2 separate regions of the Homo sapiens genome follow, and region 1 is linked to region 2. The links are contacts of gene promoters, found by promoter capture Hi-C in blood cells and fetal thymus (Javierre and others, 2016). All regions are on one chromosome and are shown on one strand. Each heading gives the region's core, a stretch centred on a gene start or on the middle of the fragment in contact. The rest is flanking DNA. Distances are from core to core; before and after follow the strand shown.

Region 1 (4,853 bases), core at 1,371-3,870, 530 kb after region 2:
TTTTTTTTTTTTTTTAGAGACAGGGTCTCACTCTGTCACCCAGGCTGGAGGGTAGTAGTGCAATCTTGGTTCACTGCAACCTCTGCCTCCTGGGTTCAAGCAATTCTCCCATCTCAGCCTCCCGAGTAGCTGGGATTACAGGCATGTGCCACCATGTCTAGCTAATTTTTGTATTTTTAATAGAGACGGGTTTTACCATGTTGGTCAGGCTGGTCTCGAACTCCTAACCTCAAGTGATCCATCCACTTTGGTCTCCCAAAGTGCTGGAATTACAGGTGTGAGCCACCACGCCTGGTCCTTTCAATTCTTAAAATGTTCAACCATCTCCCCACTCAACGCCCTGGCTTGCTCTCCCTGGAAAGCAGAATTGCAAGGACAGGGGTACTGCATGCACAGGGACACACAGTCACGGAGGGCCAAGGAAAAAGCTGGCTGTCTGGCAAGTTCCATGATTGTAATTTGAGAAAATCACATTTGTGTTTCTGCATCAGAAACTCAAGCTGAAACAGATACTAAACCCATGGCTGGGAAGGTAGGGTTAGGAGAGTAAGACAGTAAGGGCTAAGGAGTGAAGACAAGAGAAGTTCTTTAAAAATAAGTAAGAATTTTCCCTCACTGCCAGTCCACCAATGATCTGATTTCTGTCCCTGCAGTTTTGCCTTTTCCAAAATGTCATAAAAAGGGGGTCCTGTAATACCTAGCTTTCTGAACCTTGCTTCCTTCACTTAGCATAATTGTTGAGTGTATCAACAGTGCATTCCTTTTTATTGCTGAGAATTCCTTTGCATGGATGTACAAGAGTTTGTGTATCCATCTACCAGTTGATAGGTATTTTACTCTTTCCAGTTTTGGCAACTATGAATAAAGTCGATAATAAGAAAACAAACAACACAATTTTTTAAATGGGCAATAACATCTGAACAGATACGTCACCAAAGAAGATAAATGTTTTTCACAAGCACATGAAACATGCTGAACATCATTTGTTTGGAAAATGCCGATTAAAACCACAATGAATCACCACTTCACACATTTTAGAATGCTAAAATAACCACCACCACCCTCAAACAAACAAACCAAAAAATCCTGGCAATGCCAACTGCTGGTGAGGATGCGGAGCAACTGAACTTTCTTACTTTGCTGTTGCGAATGCAAAACGGTGCACCTCCTCAGAAAGCGGGCTGGCAGTTTCTCATAAACTTAAGCGTGCTGTCACCCTACAACCCAGTGATCCCACTCTTACGTATTTACCCAAGATGAGTGAACACTTCTGTTCACACAAAAACCTGTATGTGAATGATTACAGCGGCTTTATTCATGGTTCATGATTAACTTGCCTTTTAAGATGGATGGGCAACTGTCTCTTGATGGGTTTACCTCAGTTTTCCATGTTCACAGGCCTGGACACCATCAGTCATCTTTAAAAATTCACTAGGAGATTACAAAATAGAAGCACTTTACTTTCTTGGTGGTCACGAAACTCCATGCTCAGGAGCTTACTGTTGAGGCTGAATCCCAGAGGAGGGTTTAAGCAGGAGCTTACCCGATGATCGTTACTTCCAGTGGCAAGAAGCATAAAAAGAAACAAGCTGCTATTTTCACCCTCAACTGTTCTTAATCTTGCCTCCCTCTTCCTCCTCACTTTGCTTTTCCTATTCCACCTATGTGCCCTCATGCCCTAAAGAGATATCAGCTACATTAGAAGGCCACAGAAACTGAGGCCGATATAATTTTGATCCTTCAGTGTTGAGTTTAAATAAAAACATCATATATGGTTGCTGTTATTTGTTTTATCTTCGGATTCAACTGGAAGTTCCTAATTTGAAGGGACTTTTATTATTTTATAGTGTCCTTTTATTATTTTATTTTATTTTTGAGACAGAGTCTCGCTCTGTCACCCAGGCTGGAGTGCAGTGGTACGATCTCTACTCACTGAAACCTCCACCTCCCAGGTTCAAGCAATTCTCCTGCCTCAGCCTCCTGAGTAGCTAGGATTACAGGTGTGCGCCACCATGCCTGGCTAATTTTTTGTATTTTTAGTAGAATACAAAAGCACTGAACTGTGCAGTTTCCCGTGCAGAGATGGGGTTTCACTATGTTGGTCAGGCTGGTCTCGAACTCCTGACCTCAACTGATCTGCCTGCCTCGGCCTCCCAAAATGTTGAGATTACAGGCATGAGCCACCATGCACGGCCGACAGTGTCCTTTTAGATCAATTTTAGTGTATCACCATTTTTGTACCTGCTTTTACAAATAAAAGCTTTATTGGAACACAGCCATGCACATTCATTTATATCGTGTCTGTAGGTGCTTTTGCCTACCATGGCAGACACAGCATGACCTACAAAGCCTATTTACTGTCTGGTCTTTTGCAGAAAAAGTCGACTGACTCCTTCTCCAGCAGAATGACCTTTTAGTCATTCTATTAATATAAACGATGAGTATACTATTTGTTAGCTTTGTATAGCTACTAACATCTGTGCAGCATTTTCTATCTTCAGAGCATTTTTCATATCTATCATTTCACTATAGCACCCCATTAGCCCTATTAAATTAGCTATTATTATTATCAACCCCCTTTTTGTAAACAAAATAGGCTCAGAGGGAATGAGTGAACTCAATTATAAGAGGTGAAGCCAAAATTTGAACCTGTCTCATTCTCCAAATTGTCTGATCTTGTCACAAATAAATTGATACATCACACATAGCAAGCTGATCATTTAGTAGGTGAGTGAAGATCAACTTGAATTTTCATCCGCCTAAATTCTCCATTGAGCTCATTCAATTAAAGTTCCACACAAAGTTCACATATGGGGCTCCTGTTCTCTGAGATGACGTTCCCATGTACTCTCATTCCTGGGACTTAGAGACTGCTTAGCCTACAAAAAACTTCTCTTGCTTACAGTCTGTATTCCTTTCATATATATTAGTTAATTATATTGATCAATTATCAGGGAGCTGATCTAGGTTTTGTGGGACCTAAAGCTTAGACAATTTCTGGGGCTTTTTTTTTTTTTTTTAAGAATACAAAATTTATCTTCCTTTTGCAAAATCATTTTATATAAACCATGTGATCTAATTGCTAGCCCTCCTCCTAGGGTCTTGAAAGGGGCTCTAAATTTTCAGCCTCCTGAGTAGTTAGGTCTACAGGTATACCGTGCCTGGCTATTTTTTTTTTTTAGAGATGGGGTCTTGCTATGCTGCCCAGGCTGGTCTTGAAATTCTGGCCTCAAGCAATCCTCCCATGTCAGCCTCCCCAAGTGTTGGCATTACAGGGTGAGCCACCACACCCAGCTGGTTTTTAAAGTATGGTCCACAGACAGAATTAGTGTCACTTGGGAACTTAGTAGAAATGCAAATTCTCAGGCTCCACCCCAGACCTACTGAATTAATCAGAACCACTGAGGCTGGGGCAAAGCCAGCTTTGTTTGAAAAAGACCCACAGTGGATTCTGACATGCACTTGGATTTGAGCATCACTGCTTTACTGGACCATAGATTCTGCTTTCTTCTCTCATATAGAAAATTTTTTGAGGAAAAGAGGGGAAACTGCATCATTGAAGCGAGCTGTATAATTTTTCTTTAGGAACACAATGATCCAGTAACCAATCTGAACCATTAGCAATCTCAGCTTCAGAATTTCAGGAATCCATGACATGTGAAATGTGTCAGGATTAGCCAGAAGTAAAGGCTGGCAACTCAGTCTACTTTGATGGTTTCTGATTGCACTGATGATAAATTAACTGAACTCATGACTTATTAATTGAATTGAAAATGTATATTTAAAGACTCCTGATACAGTCAGAAGACTAAATCAGTAATTCCAAACTCTGAATCATCTTAGAAGTCAAAGAACTTTCCACAAAGGAACTAAATTACTTACCTCAAGCAAAATTCCTTTTTATTTAAAGAGTTGAGATTGGACCAAATTGGTCCTTTTAACCACCAAAGAGCCATTTTATTATTTTTGCCATCAAGGACCTCTTATTTTAATAACTTTTTTCTTTCACATCAATGGTAGTGTGCCAACTTTGTAACAAGGTTTGTGGAAGGCACATTTCACACATGCACATGAAAAGCCAATCACCATGCTTACGAACTACTAAAAGATCAATAATATTTATTTCTTATACATGTGTTACCTCGATTTGTCCCCACACCACCTTTCTATTTTTTTTTTCTTCTTTGAGACAGAGTCTTGCTCTGTCGCCCAGGCTGGAGTGCAGTGGTGAGATCTTGGCTCACTGCAATCTCCACCTCCCGGGTTCAAGTGATTCTCCTGCCTCAGACTCCTGAGTAGCTGGGATTACAGGCACCTGCCTGTAAACAGAAGAATAAAGTAGAATGAATCAGTGTATCCAATTTTAAAGCTGCATATATAGCTATAATAATCAACAGTGTGTGGTAATGGCAAATAATCCTAGCCCTAGGATTAAAATGGGCTGGGCACAGTGGCCCACAACTGTAATCCCAGCACTTTGGGAGGCTGAGTGAGGTAGGAGGATCAGTTGAGGCCAGGAGTTTGAGACTAGTCTGGGCAATATAGCAAGACCCCATCAATATGATTTTTTTTTTTTAATTAACTGGGCGAAGTGGCATGTGCCTGTAATCCCAGCTACTCTGGAGGCTGAGGTGGGAGGATCACTTAAGCCCAGGAGATCCAGGCTGCAGTGAGCTATGATCCTGCCACTGTACTCCAGCCTGGGTGAAGGGGTGAGACCCTGTCTCCAAAGAAAAAAAATAAAAGAGGCCTAAAAATAAGGCAAATGTCTAAAGGGACCGCTCTATAAACAAAGTGGGCCAGAATTTTAGATTCTGAAGGCAGACAAGGAATATACGTGAAATGAAAAAAAT
Region 2 (4,715 bases), core at 950-3,449:
AGGAGCACTGTATTGAGTCAGGACGATGGGTTATGTCCTTGCGAAGGCTTCTGACCTCTCTAGTCCTCAGTTTCTTTATCTGTAACATGAGTGACCTTAGCTAGATGGTCCTCAAAGAGCTCTTTACAGGTTAGAAGTGCTCTGATCCTGTACTTAATGAAATGGAGAAAATATTCATGCCATATTCATTTGCAGGGAAAAAATCCTTTGCAAAACATGATGTTTGACTCTTGTAATTTTTGTTTTAAAAAACACATGTAGCAGAATGAAGGTATTTGTTCTTCCCATCCCCACTCTGCTGCTGGGCAGAGGATATTTTAGCCATAGAATTCACTAGGATTCTTTGTCAGACAGGACTCTATTCTAAGGAATGGGAGCACTGCCATCATCCTCCTGGAATGGAGTCAGGGATGCCCCCCAGGACACTGGACCCCAATGGGCAAAGGTTCTCAGCAGCTTCAACCTAAAAGAGGCCCCTGAGGGGAGAAGGGACCCTGAAGGGAGGGGAGTGGTATAGGAAGGGAAGGGACACCATTCAAGGTAGGCCCTGTGTCAACTACAATTCAACCCTGTGAGTGCTGTAAGGAATCCAAGACATATGAGGTAAAGATCCTCTACACACAAGGAAGTCACCACCCAGCTGGCATCAAAAGCCATATTGATGAAAGACAACGAGAAGGAAGAGATGCATTGTTAGTGTTGCAGGGAGCACAGTGGATTGGGGCAGGTGGCCTGGATCCTGTCTCTGGCCGATCACTGCTGGAGGGAAGCCACTCTGCATCCCTGGGCCTCAGTTTCCTCATATAGAAGTGAGGCATTAAACTCAATTTCAAAATTACCTTCTGCCTCTGAGATTCTGGAGCGGATGGTTTGCTGAAGGAGGACTGAGCGTGGGCACCCGGAATTGTGTCATTTGATGAATGAGTCAGACTAGGGGCGTCAGAAAAATAATGTCTTCACAATCAACACAATGGGATAGGCAATTAAGAAACACTTTGCCGATGGCTTGAGTGTCTGTTCCACTCAGAGGATACATTCCCGAAGAGGGATGGGGTGACTCATCAGGCGGCTGTAACCTGATGAAACAGAGCTATCCAATTTCCTCGCTCCAATTCCAGGCAACCAAATTATCTTAATATGGTTTTCCAAAGCAGTTTCCCCAGGCAAGAGGAGAGACAGACATGAGTTTCCAGACTAAGCAGCAATTGAAAATTGACATTTTTTTATAGGAGTAAAATTATATCACATATGAGAAATGACTGAAACTTTATATGAAGTAGCATTCAAATGCAAAGGGTGTCATCATTAGCAATATCACCATTGGTTATTATTCTCATGCTGATTTGGTCAGCCTTTGAACCAGTTTTTCTTTTTTTTTTTCGAGCTGGTAAATCCTGGGTGACTTGGTGAGTATAGAAATTCTGGGTATGCAAAGCTGATCAAAGATGATAATTACTGATATTTAGAAAGTGCTTTCACATACAGTTATCTCAGTAGCTCTAGAGAGAGAAAATATTATTTTCCCCAGTCTGTAGTTCTGGAAGGCTCAGAGAGGTTAGGTGACTTTTACAGAATAATAGAGCTCGTCAGGGTTTGGCTGGCAGTCAAACCCAGGTGGTCAAGTCCAAATCCAACTCACAGTGTTGCTGCTTCTTAAGCGAGTGATTATCCGCCCATCCAGCACACCCCCTCACATATATACTCACAAACATTTACTATGCAAGATCCATGCCCAGTGGGACAGCTGCAGGAGGGATCAGAAGCTGAGGCAGAGAAAAAACCAAAATGCCAATATATTCTGGAGATCATAGAACCGTGTCTCTTTCCCTCTTCAAATGCTGCTAAAAGCACGTAGAGTCTTTCTGGACAGCCGTCCCATGGCTCAGTCTTTTAGGCTTCCCTTAGTCCCTGGACTCAGGCTGACTCTGCTCATGGTGGGTGTAGAAATCTCCCATTCTGCTTAGATGGAGTCTCTGGGGTGTCAGGCATACCCCTGTTGCCTGCATCTACCTCCTTTTCTGTCTGGTTGTTTCTGCTGAGGGTGGCTAGGGACCCTCAACTGAGATGGCCCCCCACAACAGCACTGTTGGACCTAACACACCCTGGGTTCCCGGCTTCTCAGCCACTGGAGCTGCCAGTCTCAAATTACCGGAGGGGAGGGAGGGCAGGCCTGGATCTCAGGATCTCGGTCCTGCATGCAATGCAAGCCTGAGCTCTCCCGCCATAAGGCTGCAGCGGTGTGGGCTCCTTGTGCCCAGATCCTTTGTATTCATAGGGGGAAGTGGAAGACCACGCTGCCTGACTGAGACTTTATTATAGAGGCTCAGGAAAAAGATGAACTGGTCCCATTCCTGCATCTCCTTTTGCTGGATCTACTTTGCTGCTTCCAGACTGAGAGGTGAGAGGCTGGTGACACGTAACCTATCTTGTCTCATCTGGGGCTATTGCTTTGGTGGGAGGTGGGGCAGGACAGGGAAGACAAAACAGATGATTCAACCGCATGGAAGTGTTCTGTGCTTCCTACTGACTCTGATCTTGGTAGGGCATGCCAGAAAAACAACTCATCCATCCACCCAAAGCTTGTCCCTCGCCAGTGTTGGGCCATCCCCCATTTTAGACCTCAGTCTTGTGTTGTTTGTCTTGAAATACACACAACACTCTGAATGTTAATCCAGATCCCTCTTGTTGAGTAGCTGCAGAGACGGCAGATGGAAAATATGCTCAGAAGTTGTTTAATGACCTTTTTGAAGATTATTCTAATGCTCTTCGTCCAGTGGAAGATACAGATAAAGTCCTGAATGTGACCCTGCAGATTACGCTCTCTCAGATTAAGGATATGGTGAGTAACACATGGTGCTGACTCTGTGGAATGATTCTTAGAGGATAAACAACCATGCTTTCTGAAGAGAATGTCTTAACTGGGAATTTGAGAGGGAATGATAGCTCCTTAAGCAAGCTGGTGGGAGAAGAGAATGTCGGGAAAAGGAAGCTTTCTACAAAACTAATTAATTTCAAGAAACGTTACCTAATCCTGGTCATTAACTGTAACAGTCTTAGATAATCTAAAGAAAGATGGGGTTACATACTGTATGCAGCCATTTATATAAAATGTCCAAAAGAGGTAAATCCGTAGAGACAGAAAACGGCATAGAGGTTGCCGGGGTCTGTGGGGAGGACGGGGAAAACGGCCAGTGAGTTCTTAATGATTACGGCGTTTCTTTGCGGGGGGAAGAAATGATCTTGAATTAGGCAGTGGTGATGGTTGCACAACGTTGTGAATATATTGGAAGCCGGTGCATTGTTCCCTTCGAAAATGATTAAAATGGTGAGTTTTAATGTGAATTTGATCTTAATTTTTTTTTTGAGACGGAGTCTTGCTGTCACCCAGGCTGGAGTGCAGTGGCATGATCTCCGCTCACTGTAAGCTCTGCCTCCTGGGTTCACACCATTCTCCTGCCTCAGCCTCCTGAGTAGCTGAGACTACAGGCACCCGCCACCACACCCGGCTAATTTTTTTTTTGTATTTTTAGTAGAGACAGGGTTTTACCGTGTTAGTCAGGATGGTCTCAATCTCCTGACCTCATGATTCGCCCGCCTCGGCCTCCCAAAGTGCTGGGATTACAGGCATGAGCCACCGCGCCCGGCCAATCTCAATTTTTTAAAAAAGGTAGTGTTTTAAGATGGCATAGCTTATTAGTGCTTATCTATGTTTAATTACACAATGTTATGAAACTTGAAAGATTTTCCTTCTGCACATTGTTATTTCCTGACTTTTGCTTTCAAGTACATCATTCATTGATCAATTTTCAGGAAATATAGGCAGTTGATCTATGCAAAGATATCAATACTAAAATATTTGTCCACTTTACATTCTGAACACTAAATCTAGGAGGAAAAAAAATATGATCTTGGCAGTCAATCAAGGGGATAGAATAAATAAAGAATAAAGCTCTCACTTTACTTATTGAAATTTGATGAGTGTTTGTGAAATTCCTATTGTGAAGAACAAGTGTCCTATCAGTGGAAAACATTTCAAGTGTCTGCTAGGTAAAGCGACATCTGGATTCATTGTGTAGGATGAAAGAAACCAAATTCTGACTGCTTATTTGTGGATCCGCCAAATCTGGCACGATGCCTATCTCACGTGGGACCGAGATCAGTACGATGGCCTAGACTCCATCAGGATCCCCAGTGACCTCGTGTGGAGGCCAGACATCGTCTTATATAACAAGTAAGTGCAGCTCAGAACTGAGGCTTTTCAGGCATGAACGTGTTGATTTCATAGAATTTAAACATAATGAAAAAGGAATGTTTAAAACATGCATGAAATTAAATATTAATCCATGTTCCTAGGACTTACTGAAATAAGAGACATAGAATCTTAGATCAGGAAATAATATGTCATAAAAGCTTAGAGCTGGAAAGAAACCATCCATCTACATGCCCCTTTTTCAGGTGGGAAAGTGGAGGCTGCATTAGTTTGCTAGGGCTAACTTTGCCATAACAGAGTAGCACAGATTAGATGACTTAACAAAAATGTGTTATCTCACAGTTCTGGAGTTGAGATGCCTGAGATGAAGGGGTTGACAGCGTGGTTTCCTCTGAGGGCTGTGAGGGAGGATCTGTACCAGGCCTCTCTTCTAGCTAATGGTGGTTTGCTGGCAGTCTTTGGTGTTCTTGGCATTATAGAAGCGTCACTCTGAGCTCTGCCTTCA

Evidence for each region. The method cuts DNA at HindIII sites, captures the fragments that hold promoters and counts their contacts. A CHiCAGO score of 5 or more calls a contact.
Region 1: a contact is called between a fragment that was not itself captured here and the fragment with the promoter of CHRNA9 in region 2, in 1 of 17 cell types (neutrophils). The highest score is 9.9, in neutrophils.

The regions. Positions count from the first base shown.
Region 1 is chr4:40,864,861-40,869,713 of GRCh38, forward strand. All of the region lies in intron 12 of APBB2 (amyloid beta precursor protein binding family B member 2), which reads right to left. It overlaps LOC124900907 (small nucleolar RNA U13), which reads right to left and starts at 4,110; the gene lies at 4,004-4,110. The HindIII fragment of the contact is 725 bases long and covers 2,259-2,983 here.
Region 2 is chr4:40,333,134-40,337,848 of GRCh38, forward strand. It overlaps CHRNA9 (cholinergic receptor nicotinic alpha 9 subunit), which reads left to right and starts at 2,200. Exons shown (of 5, transcript NM_017581.4): 1 at 2,200-2,398; 2 at 2,694-2,839; 3 at 4,077-4,231. The coding sequence starts at 2,335. The HindIII fragment of the contact is 7,151 bases long and covers 1-2,577 here.